4 separate regions of the Homo sapiens genome follow, and all the other regions are linked to region 1. The links are contacts of gene promoters, found by promoter capture Hi-C in human tissues and cell types (Jung and others, 2019). All regions are on one chromosome and are shown on one strand. The core of a region is centred on a gene start or on the middle of the fragment in contact, and the rest is flanking DNA. Distances in the headings are between cores, read along the strand shown. Region 1 holds the start of POU4F3 (POU class 4 homeobox 3). Region 2 overlaps RBM27-POU4F3 (RBM27-POU4F3 readthrough). Region 3 overlaps LOC105378213 (a long non-coding RNA gene). Region 4 has its middle 54 kb from the start of POU4F3.

Region 1 (3,814 bases), core at 448-2,947:
AAACGCCTTGGAGTTCCCGATAACCATCCCCCGAACCCGGGAGGGATGAGCACTAGGCTCTCCCGGCTCCCGACGCTGCGCCCTGCCGCAATCAGTGGACAGCCGAATACTTCATTCGTTTCTGTTTCTGTCTCTGGTTGCAGAACCAGACTCTCACCACGTTCTTTTTAAGGTCCAGTTTCTCAGCGATGGCCGCGATCTTCTCAGATGAAGGACGTGGCTGGATAGCGAAATAGGCCTCGAGTGAACGCTTCTCCGGCGCCGCGATGGACGTGCGTTTGCGCTTCCGTTCGCTGCCGTTGAAGAGCTCTGGCTTGCTGTTCTTCTCTCGGTAGGCGGCCTCGGCCTCCTCCAACCAGGCCTGGAGCACCGGCTTGAGAGCGATCATGTTGTTGTGCGAGAGAGTGAGAGACTCGAACCTGCAGATGGTGCTTTGGCTCAGCGAGCCCACGCCGGGGATCTTGAGATTAGCCAGAGCCGCGCCCACGTCCGCCTGGGTCACCCCCAGCTTGATGCGCCGCTGCTTGAAGCGCTCGGCGAAGGCTTCCAGCTCGCGCGGGTCTGACTCCACGTCGCTGAGGCATGCAGGCATGGCGCTATGAGGGGCCACGGTGTGCGGGTGACTCATGCCCATGGCCTGGTGCAGGTGGCCCATGGCGCCCAGGTGGTGTGGATGGATCTGTGCGGGCATCACCGAGTGTTCCGGAGCGCCCAGGCCGCTCACACTCAGCGTGGGCGAGATGTGCTCCAGCAGGTCGCCTTCGAGGCCCTGGTGCACGGCGTGGTGAGGGTGTGAGGTGAGCGCAGCTGGGTGGGAGATGGGCACGGTGGACGAAGTGGACGTGCAGGGCACGCTGCTCATGGTATGGTAGGTGGCGTCGGGCTTGAACGGATGGTTCTTGCCGTGGGAGACGATATCCACCGCCGCCAGAGCTTCGGCGCGTGCCAGCAGGCTCTCATCAAAGCTTCCAAATATATTACCCTGCAGCTGCAAGCGAGAAGGCGCACAGCACGGTCAGTAGGGAATACTGTCAACACAGGATTAAAACACATTTTCAAGCAACCGAGATGCCTCTCCTCAAAGCCCAGGTCATAAAAATTAATACGGAGGCAGCGGCTCTGCTGGAACAGACGTGTGGATCAGAGACATGAATGAGAGAGAGAGCGCGCCGGGAGAGAACGCGGGGGAGACAAGGAGAGGGGTTCAGACAGCGGCGATTGTTCTGGGCGACATGAAAAAAACATGAAGCTAGTGCCTGTCAAAAAATGTGCCTTAGAGCGGTAATTATGCTCCACTACGTACCTGCGGGGCTGGGAGACAGACTCGGCGCATGGCCTCGGAGCCAGAGTGCAGACTGGAGAATTTGGGTTCTTGCAGCACCGGGTGCATGCCGAAAGGCTGCTTGGAGTTCATGGCCATCATCTTCGCGCTCCTGGCAGGGTGGCAGCGGGTGACATGGAATCAGGCTTGTCTAGCTTGCTTGCCGCTCTCCAAGTGAGCGCTGCTCAGCGCCCGCGCTCCCCTCGCCCTCTCGCTCGCTGCCTCCCCTCTCCCCCACCTGCTTCTTCACTCATCTTACAAGCAGCCTGCCAGGAAGGGCCCGGGCGCGCGCAGGCGTGCTCACGCGCCGGGGACTCGCAGGGGCGGCCCGGGAGGTGAGGAGAGACAGCAGCTAGCGGCGCGCCTTTCTGCGCCCGCGGCGGCCGCCCCCTCCACAGCCTTTATACCCGGGCCTGGCCTGGCCTCTCCCAGTCCGCCCCGCCCCGCTGGCTCCAACCCGCCAGACCTTTCCGATTCTTTCTTCTTCGTGGACTTCCCTTCCCCCATGCCACCCCAAAAGTCCCAACCTCTCCGTCCTGTCCCAGCTCGAACTGCCTGGATAAAAGGGTAGCCCTGGGCTGAGCTGGGGCAGGAAGTTGACCCTACTCCAACTTCCCCTCTCCACCACACACACACACACACACACACACACACACACACACACACACTCCGTCGGCCCGGCTGCCGCCAAACTGCCCATTTCCAGGGCGCTCCTGGCCTCACGCCCAAGCTGTCCACCAGAGTCCGGTCCCGCGGCGCAGCGAGGAGGCGCCTCCAAGCGCCCAGACGGGCCCTGGAGAGGGTGAGGGGCTGCCAGAACGAGGCCCAGGTGACCCCTGCCCCACCTCCCTCAACCGCGCTCCGGGGTAGAGGTAGGGGCAGTAACTGCCTTCTCAGTCCGGGGTGGCTTCCTCCCCACGCTTGCCTTTCTTTCTTTCATTTGAGGGATGTAACTTGGCCCACTCTTCCTCCAACCCTCCCGTCTAAGGAAGCTTGTGGAGTATTTTTTTTAGAATAGCGACTGTTCAGGATGGCCCTCCAGGCCTGGGAGTCCTTCAGTGCATTTCTGCTGGGCAGCCAGAGCTTGCAAGCCCATTCCTCGTGACAACAGCTACCGTTTAAGAGTTCCTAATATGTGCTAGACAATTTAGAGTTTGCCCATGGGATTCTCATACCCACCGTATGGAGTAGGTGATGTTATCCCGTTTTACAGATGAGGAAAACAAGGATCAGAGGGGCTAATGATTAGCCCATTCACTCACTCACCCAGTTATCCATCCATCTTACAAATATTTACTGACGGCCTGCTGCTTCCCAGGCGCCTTAGCCTCTTGGTCTTCCTTCTCAAAGTTTCGGAACTTGAGGGCTCTCGAGGTTAGCACTGCCCGCCTCCACCTCCCCTAGCCTCTTTTTCTCTCTACTTCCCTCTTCTTTCCTCTCCCTTGCCCCGCTCTAGTAAACATCGTGAATAATGGATGGGGAATCCTGGACCTCGACTACGCTGCACTCCGGTTCGGAGAGAAACCCCGCGCGTGCAGCTGTACCCCCTCGTCAGGGCCACTGCCTCCGCTGAGAGAGCGATCTTCGGGGCTTAGAGACCTCACCCTGCCTGTTATTGTGCAGGGTATGTGCGTGCCGGGTTTCCCAGAATCTGAACGAGGTGGGGTGGTGTGGTTTAGGGGAACATCCCTTAGTCCAAGAGGACGCCCTGACAGATCCGGGCTCCCTCTTCCCCTCGGCGCCCTCCAGTTGCTTTTCTCCCCATCCGAGCCAGCCCCCTCCGCTGGTTCCCGCCCTGCGATGGTGGGAAAAAGACTCAGCCCAGGTGCCTAGAGCCAAGCGCAACCCTTTCGCTAAAGCCCTCTGAGCCTCGGTTTCGGCGGCTCTTAAATGGAATTGCACTACTGTCTGCCTCCTTGGATTCTGGTGAAGACGTTCAGAGTTAGGGTAAGAAGAAAAGCATTGAGCCACGAAATTGGTGCTCAGTAAACTCCCTCACAACCTGGTGCCATAGCGCTCAGGCCCTGGCCTCAGATTCAAAATGCGCCTCTGCCTCTTGCTGGCTGAGACCACGAGATATTCTCAACTTCTCTGTACTGCGGTGTCCCCATCTGTAAAATGGGGGTGATCATTTATTTCCCATTGATTGTTGTGAGGAATGCACTGGGATAAGCACATGGCACAGTGCCTGGCGCATTGATATCATTGAATACATGTTCCTCTCTTCTTCCTCAACTTAAAGAGAAAGCATGTGAGAGTGGGGGTGGGCCAAGTCATCCTCCTGGAACCCGGTTTGTCTGCACGTGCATACTGTGGATCCTTGCTCTCCATTCACCCAACATCTGCATTGTGCCAGACCCCATGCCAAAGGCTGGGACACAGATGTGAATCAGAATCCATCCTGGCACTCAAGGAGTCACCAGTCTAATATTCACTTCAGAAAGTTAACTCTAAACTTGCCAAGCAGTAGAAGGGAGGTAGATTCATGAACAA
Region 2 (3,586 bases), core at 254-2,753, 43 kb after region 1:
ACCTATAGCTGTCTTTATCTAGTTGATTATCATGGTGTACAGTACTATAGAAATATAGAGGTGCCAACTCAGGTATGCAGTATACCTTTCTCTTTTCTTCAACATTGCTTACACATTTATTTAGGTGATCCCACAAGATTTAATAACCAAGGTAGAAAATTCAATTGCAGTTGAAAATAATTCGAGACAATCTGATGAAGCTTAGATCTGCTAATAGTGATGTACATTTCACAAAATACCTTCAGTGAACTCCCATTTAATGTTCATTGCAACCCTGTGAACATTAAATGGGTACTAATATTATAATGTTCATTTTATATGAGTAAACTGAGTCTTCTAAAGACTAAGAAGGTCAGGTGCAGTGACTACACCTGTAACCTTAGTGCTTTGGGAGGCTGAGGTAGGAGGATCACTTGAGCAAGGAAGTTGAGGCTACAATGAGCCGTGATAGCACCACTGCACTCCCACCAGGCAGCTTGGATGACAGAGAGAGACCTTGTCTCCAAATAAACGAAAAAAAAAAAGACAAACAAAACAAAAAAGACTAATCCCTACTCACAAGTAGCAAGAATTGAGATGTGAGCACAGTATCAAGCAATGGTTAAAAGCCCCACTTTGATGTCAGGCATAACGTGGTTTTAATTGTTGGCTTTGCTTTGAGACTATCGGTGACACAACTGCTCTATGCCCGAGTTTCCTCTTGCACAAAAAAGGAAAAATAATAGTATACCTCAGAGTTAAATAATAATGTTTAAGAAACTTAATAATGTTTAAGAAACAGCACAGTGAGTCACATAATGAGCAATGACATGGTAAACAATCTTATTTTGATCATAAGGCTCTACGGACCATTTTATGGCTGAGAAATGCCCAAGGTGTGGGAGATGAGCTACCTGCATCAGCTCTGCGGGCCCTGAGTTCTGCTTGCCATCCCTCTCTCAGGTCAAGAATACTAACATTGGCTGCGCGGGGTGGCTTATACCTGTAATCCCAACACTTTGGGAGGCCAAAGCGGGTGGATCACTTGAGGTCAGGATTTCGAGACCAGCCTGGCCAACATGGTGACACCCCGTCTCTACAAAAAATAAAAAAATTAGCCAAGTATGGTAGCACAAACCTGTAATCCTGCTGCTGGGTGGCTGAGGCACAAGAATCACTTGAACTCGGGAGGCAGAGGTTGCAGTGAGCCAAGACTGTGCCACTGCACTCCAGCCTGGGAAACAGGGTGAGACTCTCTCAAAAAACAAACAAAAAAGAGTGCGGACATAAAAGTACTGCATGGAGGGAAAAAAAAAAAAAGCACTGAATGAAAATGAAACCATGCTTAAAGAAACCAAGGCTTAATTTTATTTTTTTTAAAAAAAAGCAAGTATATTGTGATGTAGTAACTTCCACAATTCCTTTTCTAAATTTTCAACAATTTCTTCTTAGCACCATTAAAGTTGTGGTGAAATGAAATGAAAATTAACCAAATAAAAGGCAGAGAGATAGCTTGTTCTTCGTTCTCTCTCCTGGTTCTTCATTTAAGTCGTTTACTCGACAGTCATTAAAGTGCTTCTGTGTGCGGAATATTTTACCGTCTCATCTGTTTTCTTAATTTCTTATTTATGGCACACACACATACAAAAATCCATGTTTCTGGGCAAGAATGGTAAAGGATGACCCGACCAATCAAAATTCATTGTACTCTCTCTTTCCTTCCTTCCTTTCCTCTTTTTCTCTTTTTTTTCTTTCTTTTCTTTCCTTTTTTTTTTTTTTTCTTTTCTTTTTTTGAGATGGAGTCTCGCTCAGTCCCCCAGGCTGGAGTGCAGTGTCATGATCTTGGCTCACTGCAACCTCCGCCTCCTGGGTTCAAGTGATTCTCCTGCCTCAGCCTCCCAAGTAGCTGGGATTACAGATGCCCGCCACCACACCCAGCTAATTTTTGTATTTCTAGCAGAGATGGGGTTCCACCGTGTTGCACAGGCTGGTCTCAAACTCCTGGGCTCAAGTGATCCTCCTGCCTCAGCTTCCCAAAGTGCAATTTTTCTATTTTAAGTGTGCTGGTTTTCTTTGGATTCTGATTCATGCAGGCCATGCTGAAAGAAAGACAAGTGAAGCCATCTACTGTTACCACTTCTGCTACCCTAAGTCTATGAAGCATAAAACTGCCAGTGATGATAATCAAAACCTCAAAATGAATAAAAAGGCAATCCTCCATGGTTGTAAAACAGACGAGGCAAAATATGCTATGTTGTTTTTACAATATTGAAAGTTCTCTGAACACGTCTGAATGTACCAGTTAGGTTCTACTTTTCTTTTTCCAGATAAGACCATTTCTGAGAAATTGACAGGTGTCTATAACTCACAAATAGCTTTCCAAAAATACTAGGATCTCAGTACAGCTTTCCATAAAGAGTTCTTATGTAAGTCCTCACTCTTAAGTAGATTTTAATAATTTACTTCAATCTCTAGACTTTTCTTCAGCTTCATCTAATTTATCAATAATATTCACTTGAAAATTTAAAACAAAGAGTAGATGAAACTTCTTTGACATTCTTGGGGGCCTTGGGAGACCACACAGCACCATTCTATTGAGATGACTCCAAATAATTTCCACATGAATGGCTAAAGTGCAGAAATGTATAATTTATTAGGATTTAAATAAATCAGGGAGAAAAGTGCTTTAAAGTTATTGGTAGAAAATTTTCAAAAAATAAAGTTATAATTCTAAGAAATTAAGTTTCTACGTATAAAATATAAAATTCTTCCTTCCCTATATTTAACATTTCAAAGCAAAATATGCTGAAAAACTCTTTAATAACATGCATTTTTTTTTTTAGCATTCGATCACAGTAAAATTTTTAAAAAACACACGACATACTTCTGGAATCTTCACAGAGGAAAAAAAAGCACACGACATAATCCGATTTTATTTTTAGGGTGAAATACCTTTCTTAAAACATGTGCTGTGTGGCCAGGATGTTATAATCATTCTCTTTTGTCTCAGCAATTTCCCTGATACAATTTTCATATTGGAAATATTCCCTAATGCTACAAAATTTGTCAAGAATAAAAAACTTTTTCATTCAATCTCTTAGAACATGGCTAGTTTTCTCATGGGCTGTCAAAGAATAAAAAGTCCCCTCTTCTTCAAGGCCGCTTACATCTTTTTCTTTTTTCAGATAACTATTACCGTAACAACTACAAGTCAATAAACATTTTGAAGTTCTCCAAATAGCAAAAATTAGAAATCCACAAAGATTTGGAATGATCTAAGAAATCTGAACATGTAAAAAAAATCAACTCCCCAAACAGAACAATGACATGAACATCAGTTTTATTCACTGAGAATATACTTTTTAAAAATATGGCATAAACATAACTATAAATGAACACTGCTATTCTCAGCACTTTTTGTCTAGAAAATTCAGTGTTCTATATGAAAACATCATTAAAGCATGTAAACTTATTTATGTACGTGATTTTTTTAATGCCAAAGTTAAAAGGAAAAAGGCACGAGAAATATTGAAAAACACAAAGAAGCAAGGTAGAAATACTGCAAGATTATCATAATTCAATTTGTCACAGGGAAAAAAACATTTAA
Region 3 (3,408 bases), core at 100-2,599, 34 kb before region 1:
AAACATGGCAAAACCCTGCCCCTACAAAAAAAATACAAAAATTAACTGGGCATGGTGGTGTGTGCCTGTAGTCCAGCTGCTCAGGAGGCTGAGGTGGGAGGATTGAGCCCGGGAGGTCAAGGCTGCAATGAGCTGTGATCATGCCACTGCACTCTACCCTGAGAGACAGAGCAAGACCCTGTCTCAAAATAAATAAAAATAATTATCTCTTTTTTGGTCAGTCTCCCAGGGGTCCCTGTCCTCTTGAGGGCTGGGTCTATGTCTTACCTTTTTCTTCATAGCACTACCTCAGTGCCCAGCATACAGTAAGTGCTCATTATAGCTCATGAAATCAATGAGCAAACACTTCATAGTCTACCTGGTATTTTTGTATGTGAGCTGTTTCTAAATTTTCAGGATTGCCATTCGTGCCATGGCGAATGTATGGCATTTAGAACATCTTGGATTTCCCATCACCCCTCACCTTTCTGCATCTATGTTGGCCTTATTCATATAACAAACCTTGGCAATCTTGTTCATGTGAAAAGTGGTGGAGCAAATAACTCGGAACATGTTACCTATTCCATTGACTCTGCAACTTCCAAGCAGGGCAGTTCGACTTGGATATACAAACCCAGTAAGTAATCCTAAACTTGTCATCCTTATTGGAAATTTCCTTTAAGGTTATTCCATGCTGAGTAGTACTCCAGGGGTTCCTGGAAGGGAACACTTTAATTTCTTCCATTGATCACAGACATGAGAAGATCCAATTTATTTACCTGCTCACATCACCTAGTTTTCAAATGGCTTCTGAACACAGTGCCAATAAATAAATGATCATCCAGTAATAGGTCAAATTTATTTTTCACTTCTAAGGTGCCAGGTACTTTACATATAATTTTCATAGTACAACTCTCTGAGGTCACTACTATTATTCTTCATATTAAATAAAGAAAGAAATGGGAACTAAGAGAGGTTAAGTAACTTGCTCAGGATTACACAGAAGAATGAAGTGTAATTTCATTTTACAGAATAAAATATTTTTTATCAATAAGTAACTATTAACCTCCAAGACTGCTTCTCTGCATATGTGGAAAAGTGACCTGCTTAAATGATATTACCCAAGGGATATTAAAATATTGTCCCACCCCAAAACTTTACCTATTGCTTTATACTGCCATGGGGCCTGGAGATGCCATAATTAATTTACTTTTTGACTTATGGTACTGTCTGCAGACAGTCCTGAAAGAGAAATACAACTGTCCTAGTAGGAGCAGTATATTAAGACATTTGCACACATTAAGGCCGGACGCAGTGGCTCACGCCTATAATCCGGCACTTTGGGAGGCCGAGGCAAGCGGATCACGAGGTCAAGAGATGCAGACCATCCTGGCTAACACGGTGAAACCCCGTCTCTACTAAAAATTACAAAAAATTAGCCAGGCGTGGTCGCGGGTGCCTGTAGTCCCAGCTACTCGGGAGGGTGAGGCAGGAGAATGGCCTGAACCTGGGAGGCGGAGCTTGCAGTGAGCCTAGATCGTGCCACTGCACTCCAGCCTGGGTGACAGAACGAGACTCCGTCTCAAAAAAAAAAAAAAAAAAATTAATTTTTTAAAAAAAGTTATTTGCCCACATTAATACGTCAACCCTACTTAGGTTGTCAGATTAGTTAACTCTATGGTTCTTGACTCTACAATGTACCCCACACGTTGTAACTATTCTTCCTCAACAGCTTTTGAAAATATTACTGCCAGACCTCACCTGCCCCCTTGAGATTCTGATTCAACTGAGCTGAGCTAAGGCACAGGCAGGCTTGAGAACTCCTGAACTAACTGAGCATTCTATCACTTTATAAGATCTTGAAAACAATTGAAATATAGAATAACTAAGCTTTGTTGAGAATGTCTATTAAGATTCTGAGTAAAAGGGCAACTCCCAAGCTCAACATGTAATTGGGAAACACTAAAGAACAACAACAAAATGGGGGTGGAAAGGTGTTGAAAATCCGTTTTCTCCATTTCCCACATGTGTTTACCTTGGACCAACTGGGTTTGCTAGAGCTTTATCTTGGAGTTCTGGGGACTTTTCGTTTTTTTTTTTTGTTTTTTTTTTTTGAGACAGAGTCTCACTCTGTCACCCAGCAGGCTGGAGTGGGCACGATCTCGGCTCACTGCAACCTCTACCTCCCTGGTTCAAGCGATCCTCCTGCCTCAGCCTCCCAAGTAGCTGGAACTACAGGTGCCTACCACCACTCCTGGTTAATTTTTTTTCGTTTCTTTTTTTGTCATTCTTTCATTTTATATCTGATTATATGTAGTTTATTGGCTGATCTCCCGTCCTAGGAATCTTAGGCTGCATTCCTAGAGCAGGGTTCCAAGGCCTAGGCTGCATATGGGGCGGGAATAACACCAGCCAGAGATGAAATTGGGATAAAGCCAAGCAATTCATTTGGCTCAAGTGTCACTAGGAAGGGGGCAAGCAAAGAATCAGAAATTGGGCCTGAAGCAACAGGATGGGAACTGTAGAGTTCAGGATAGGGAGAGGGGTTTTTGAATGAGGGAGAGGAGGCATGGCCTGGAAGGATTCTCCAAGGCTCTAGCACATAGACAAGGAGGGCTTTAACAGCCACCTGTAGCATGACCTCAGGTAGGAAGGGAGCTATTGAGGCCACTGAGGCCTCTGAGCCAAGTAGAGAATTCTCCCACCCCAGCAAAATTAGCCTGGCAGGTGAAGAAAGCACGATTGCCTTTGTGTATTTTTAGAAGATGAAGTATTGAATCCCACTGCAGTAGTAGTGGTAGAAATAATTAATTTATTGATTACCCACTTGCTAGGTAGTGTTCAATGTATTTTATTATCTTACTTAATCCCCACAATAATTCTATAAGGTAGTTACAATCATGACTTTCTGGGATGGATATGGTCAATTGGTACTTAGCACCAATTTCCACCTTCTTTGAGGGAACTTTCTGTTTTCTGAAGGCTAGAAAACTAGCTCATTTCGTGAATTCCTTGCAGCTAGGGTCTAGATGTGAGATAGATTCCATGAAGTAAAAGCATCTGGGCAAGATTCAGGAGGTAGAAATGAGAGAAAGGGCAATTTTCTGCTATGTTTGTTGTTTTTCACTTTGCAAGAAAAATTATGGAGATACTAATGTCTCATCTCCAGCTTTCAGAGGCATTTGTAGCAGTGTTGGCAACTGATTTCAGTGGTCCAGTGTCCAGATAATTGGAGTGGCAGTGGAGGCTGATGTCCGAATAGTCCGAATAGTCCCTGAGATGGTGTGTTCTGGACCTCAGGTACTCCAGTGGCAAGCTGCTGGTTCCTCACCATCCTGATTGTGACAAAGGTCACATGATTATCTGCGATGTTTCAGGAGTCATTTCTACATACTCAATCTAGAGTCCTGCCTTCAGCCCTTCCAATAA
Region 4 (3,651 bases), core at 973-3,472, 54 kb before region 1:
CCTCCCTGGTGGTGGATGGGAAGGCGCCCTTAAACAGCCATTACGAGACCTTGATTCTTGTCCTAACCTCAGCCCAGTTTCTCCAGGTGACCTTGGGGCAGCCCTTTCATTGCTGTGGGTCTCTGCTTCTCCTCTCAGTGAAATGGAAATCAAATCTCTGTTCTTGCCCTCTCTCCAGGGAGGTATTGTGAGGAATAATAAGGCAATGCCTATAAAGTGCTTTAAGTACTTCGGGGAAAGACGTTGGCTAAATACCAAATGATAATAATAACACCGTCATCATCATTCACATTATTATTCATGGGTTGAGAGGAGAAAGCGGTTGCTGATGGTGTCTTTGCTCTGTGGGAAGGAGGACTTCAGGCCCCAGGATGTTCTATCAATAAGTCAAAGCCAATAAATACCGAGCACTGGAAGTGGAAGTTATCTAGCCATAAAGGCTGAATGTACATGCCCATTTGTATTTGAAATGACAACAACCGATTCTATTTCTCATTTTTTATTTTTATAGCTAGTGCTCAGAGCAGCTAGAAATGAGGGGAAATTGCGTTTCTTTTCAGGAGGATGGGGGAGCAAAGGGCTCTTTTATATATATATAAGATTTTACTACCCACCACTCTCTTCTTAGAATGCTTTTTTTTTTTCTACTCCTCCCAAATCCTCACCTCTATTATCCATTCCACTTATTTCTGAGTCAAAGTTCTAATCAGCAGACAGGTTTTGTCAGTGGTAGAAGATGAGCAGAGAGGATCAAAAGTGAGCCATAGGGAGAACCAGACTCAGAGCTTAGAGAAGAGAAGGAAGATGCTCCCTCTCCTAAACCTCTGATCCAAACTCATTTGTTCATCAAAAAAGAGAGTCACAATGCTTCAAGCACTGTGCTAGGCACCAGAGCTAGGTTGGTGAACAAGAAACAGACCCTGCCAGAATTTCAGCCCCTTAAAATCCTGCAAAATCAACTTTGGTGGCCAGGTAAGATGGCACCATTCAGTGAACAGCAAGGCCTTTATCTGGCAATGTCACTCTCAGGGGTGATAATGTAGTATTACCTTGAGATGCATCAGCCCTGAATGAGTCCCAAGTTTACATTTCTGGTTCTAGAGAAAAGTTTTTTCACCACCACCCGAATGAGCAGTGTATGGTCAGGAATCCACAAGATCGTTCCCCAATGCATACACATCTTAAAGCATGTGGCAGTAAACGCTGTAGACTTCAAGAAGACAAGGTTTCCATTCAAATGCACTGCTTTCCTCTTAAATTTCTCTGACACCCAGTTTCTTTATCTGCAAGTTGAGACTAAAAAGAGTGGCTCCATATACTTTCCAGACGTGCTGTGGGTGTGAAAGGAAATGATGAAAGCAAGGGTAGCTGTGAAGTTCTACTCAGATGGAAGTTGGGAGCTGTGGCAGAACTGCTGCTCACGTTGTGCCAGGTACCTTTTTGGATGAACAAGCCCCTGGAACTGTATCTGGAGATTTAAGCACTCAGCCAAGCTGCCTGGGCAATGGTGGACTTGCTACGTTCTGTTCCAGGAGCCTGTGGGTACTGAGGGAATAGGAACTCAGCTTTGTTATCTTTTTTATTTTCAAATTTTATACAAACCGTATTTTTTTCTCGTTCTAAAAGTAATATATAGGATCTTTGTAAACAAAAAGTTCAGACAATAAAGATATAAGAAGAGATTTTAAATATTACAGAGTATTGCCTTCCAAACTTCTTGGTGTGCATTCACACACATATTTTTTCCCCCAAAAGATGGGACCTTTATTGTTTTACAATCTGCCTTTTTGACTTAAGAATGTGTCCTGGCCAGCTTGCCACCTGACTTATTTAAAAGGCTCTCTGACCAGGTCTGGAGCTCTCTTCTTGAGACATAGCATCCCCTTTGAGCTCTTTCAGCATCCTTTAAGGTCTCTTTGATGGGGTTCAGTCACTCCCAGTGGCTACAAAAAATGAGAAACTTCCCCCAGCTCAAAGAAATCCAAATCGGGTATATTTACAAGCCCCACTTGCTAGGTTCTGAGACATTGACATCTTGTCATTTTTCCCCCACTTTTTCAAATTTCAAGTTGCAGTTTGATGTTGAATTAAAAATGTTGCCAGGGGCTGCCTGCAGGGCCCTCAGGCTAAAACAGTGGCAGCATCTGCCAGGGGAGACCCACAGGTCCTTCTTCAGACCATGGCAACGTACAGCTGGCATCTGAGCCCAGCAAAGGAGGGGAGAAACATGCATGTGAAAGGAAATTCAACGATCACTACTTTTTTTTTTTTAAGCCGACATCGTCAAGTCTTACCCATTTTATTTGGATTTTATGACTTAATGCCCATGGGGCATTTTGTGATCAGATTTTTGCAAAAGGGTGAAGAGATTGCAGCAACTTGCAAGAGAAAGGTCAGACCTTGTTAAACAATGCAATTGAGAATGAAAATAGGGGCTCCACGTACTTTCCAGAGGTTAAATGCCAGTCCTCATCTTAGGACCCTGGATGAATCACATGAAGGGGACAAGCATGGAGTTTATCAACAAATTTCTTTCATGCATTTGGGGTGTTTGCTGAGAAGTTCAGATGAGAAAATGCATGTGGACATGCTCTGGAAACAGGGAAGCTTTCTACAGATGAAGCCCTGAAGTCCTCTATATGCTTCTTTAAGCACTGGCCTGCGAGGACTCATGTGGAACTGGAGACAAGAATTGCCTCTAGAAAGAGGAGCTGGGTTGCTGGGAGGCAGCAGAGGAGGGGACACTTATTCTTCACTCTAGATCATTTCCTTTCTTCTGCATTTTGTACCATGTATCTGATGTACCTTTCAGCATAAAAAACAATGAATCAACAAATAAGTACTTTAGCTTAAAGGACTCTTGGGCCCTGGAAACATTCTTTAGGAAAAATACTCTTTGGCAGTGACAGCCTTTCCTTATGTGTGAAATCATGCTAAAGTCCACTAAGTCTTTTCACTGAACAGCACTAATGGCTTCATTCTTTCCTATAGAGTACTTTTTGTTTAAAAATAAAAAAGAGCATTCAAATCAAAGAACCAGCAAAAGTCTTCCATTATTATTGTCTTTATAATAATGTGCTATGTATTTTCTGACCGTGGAAAAGAAGTGATAGCCTCAGATGGCATACGTGGCTATTAATTAATGAGACTGGCTTCTGCACAAGTCTTGTGATTGTCACTATATTACTTATGCTATACCTGTTATATATGAGTAATATTATATATATTATATACTCATTACTATGTCATTCTAGCTCATTCTCAATCCTAGCTGTGCTGCCTTGGACATTTACTAGCTGTGCTCCCTTGAACAAATTACTTAACCTTTCTGAGCCTTCGTTTCTTCATATGTAGAACGGGTGCTAACAGTAGGAACTGCCCCAAAAGGTTGTTATGAGTTAAATGATACTGCCTAGGGCCTGACACAGTAAGTGTTCAACAAACACCATTCTTATTATTAATGTTATTTTTATTACAACTATCTTTGGAGATAAACAAATGTTGAAACCTCAAACTGATCCATAGGTGTGTTGGGGAAGAACAATGGCTGTAAAACAGAAAGGAAGCAGTGTGAAAGAAAGCTTATTGTCTCAAGGTCTACAAATCTTATTGAGCAAATCCACACAATTCTCATAAGCAATACCTTGCTAG

Evidence for each region. Contacts are between HindIII fragments. The study calls those that stand out against the background at their distance.
Region 2: a fragment that was not itself captured here is called in contact with the fragment with the promoter of POU4F3 in region 1 in 2 of the 25 tissues and cell types used here (mesendoderm cells and thymus).
Region 3: a fragment that was not itself captured here is called in contact with the fragment with the promoter of POU4F3 in region 1 in 2 of the 25 tissues and cell types used here (H1 embryonic stem cells and liver).
Region 4: a fragment that was not itself captured here is called in contact with the fragment with the promoter of POU4F3 in region 1 in 2 of the 25 tissues and cell types used here (H1 embryonic stem cells and thymus).

The regions. Positions count from the first base shown.
Region 1 is chr5:146,336,722-146,340,535 of GRCh38, reverse strand. It overlaps POU4F3 (POU class 4 homeobox 3), which reads right to left and starts at 1,697. Exons shown (of 2, transcript NM_002700.3): 1 at 1,304-1,697; 2 at 1-988. The coding sequence starts at 1,423. The coding sequence ends at 92. RBM27-POU4F3 (RBM27-POU4F3 readthrough) reads right to left here. Exons shown (of 20, transcript NM_001414499.1): 19 at 1,304-1,433; 20 at 1-988. The coding sequence ends at 978. The HindIII fragment of the contact is 4,777 bases long and covers 1-3,147 here.
Region 2 is chr5:146,293,671-146,297,256 of GRCh38, reverse strand. All of the region lies in intron 18 of RBM27-POU4F3 (RBM27-POU4F3 readthrough), which reads right to left. Among named protein-coding and RNA genes, the nearest start is that of POU4F3, 43 kb to the left of the region's middle. The HindIII fragment of the contact is 6,638 bases long and covers 1-3,586 here.
Region 3 is chr5:146,370,458-146,373,865 of GRCh38, reverse strand. LOC105378213 (a long non-coding RNA gene) reads left to right here. Exons shown (of 3, transcript XR_001742915.1): 3 at 397-614. Among named protein-coding and RNA genes, the nearest start is that of POU4F3, 33 kb to the right of the region's middle. The HindIII fragment of the contact is 4,563 bases long and covers 1-3,408 here.
Region 4 is chr5:146,391,048-146,394,698 of GRCh38, reverse strand. No RefSeq gene overlaps it. Among named protein-coding and RNA genes, the nearest start is that of POU4F3, 54 kb to the right of the region's middle. The HindIII fragment of the contact is 5,599 bases long and covers 1-3,651 here.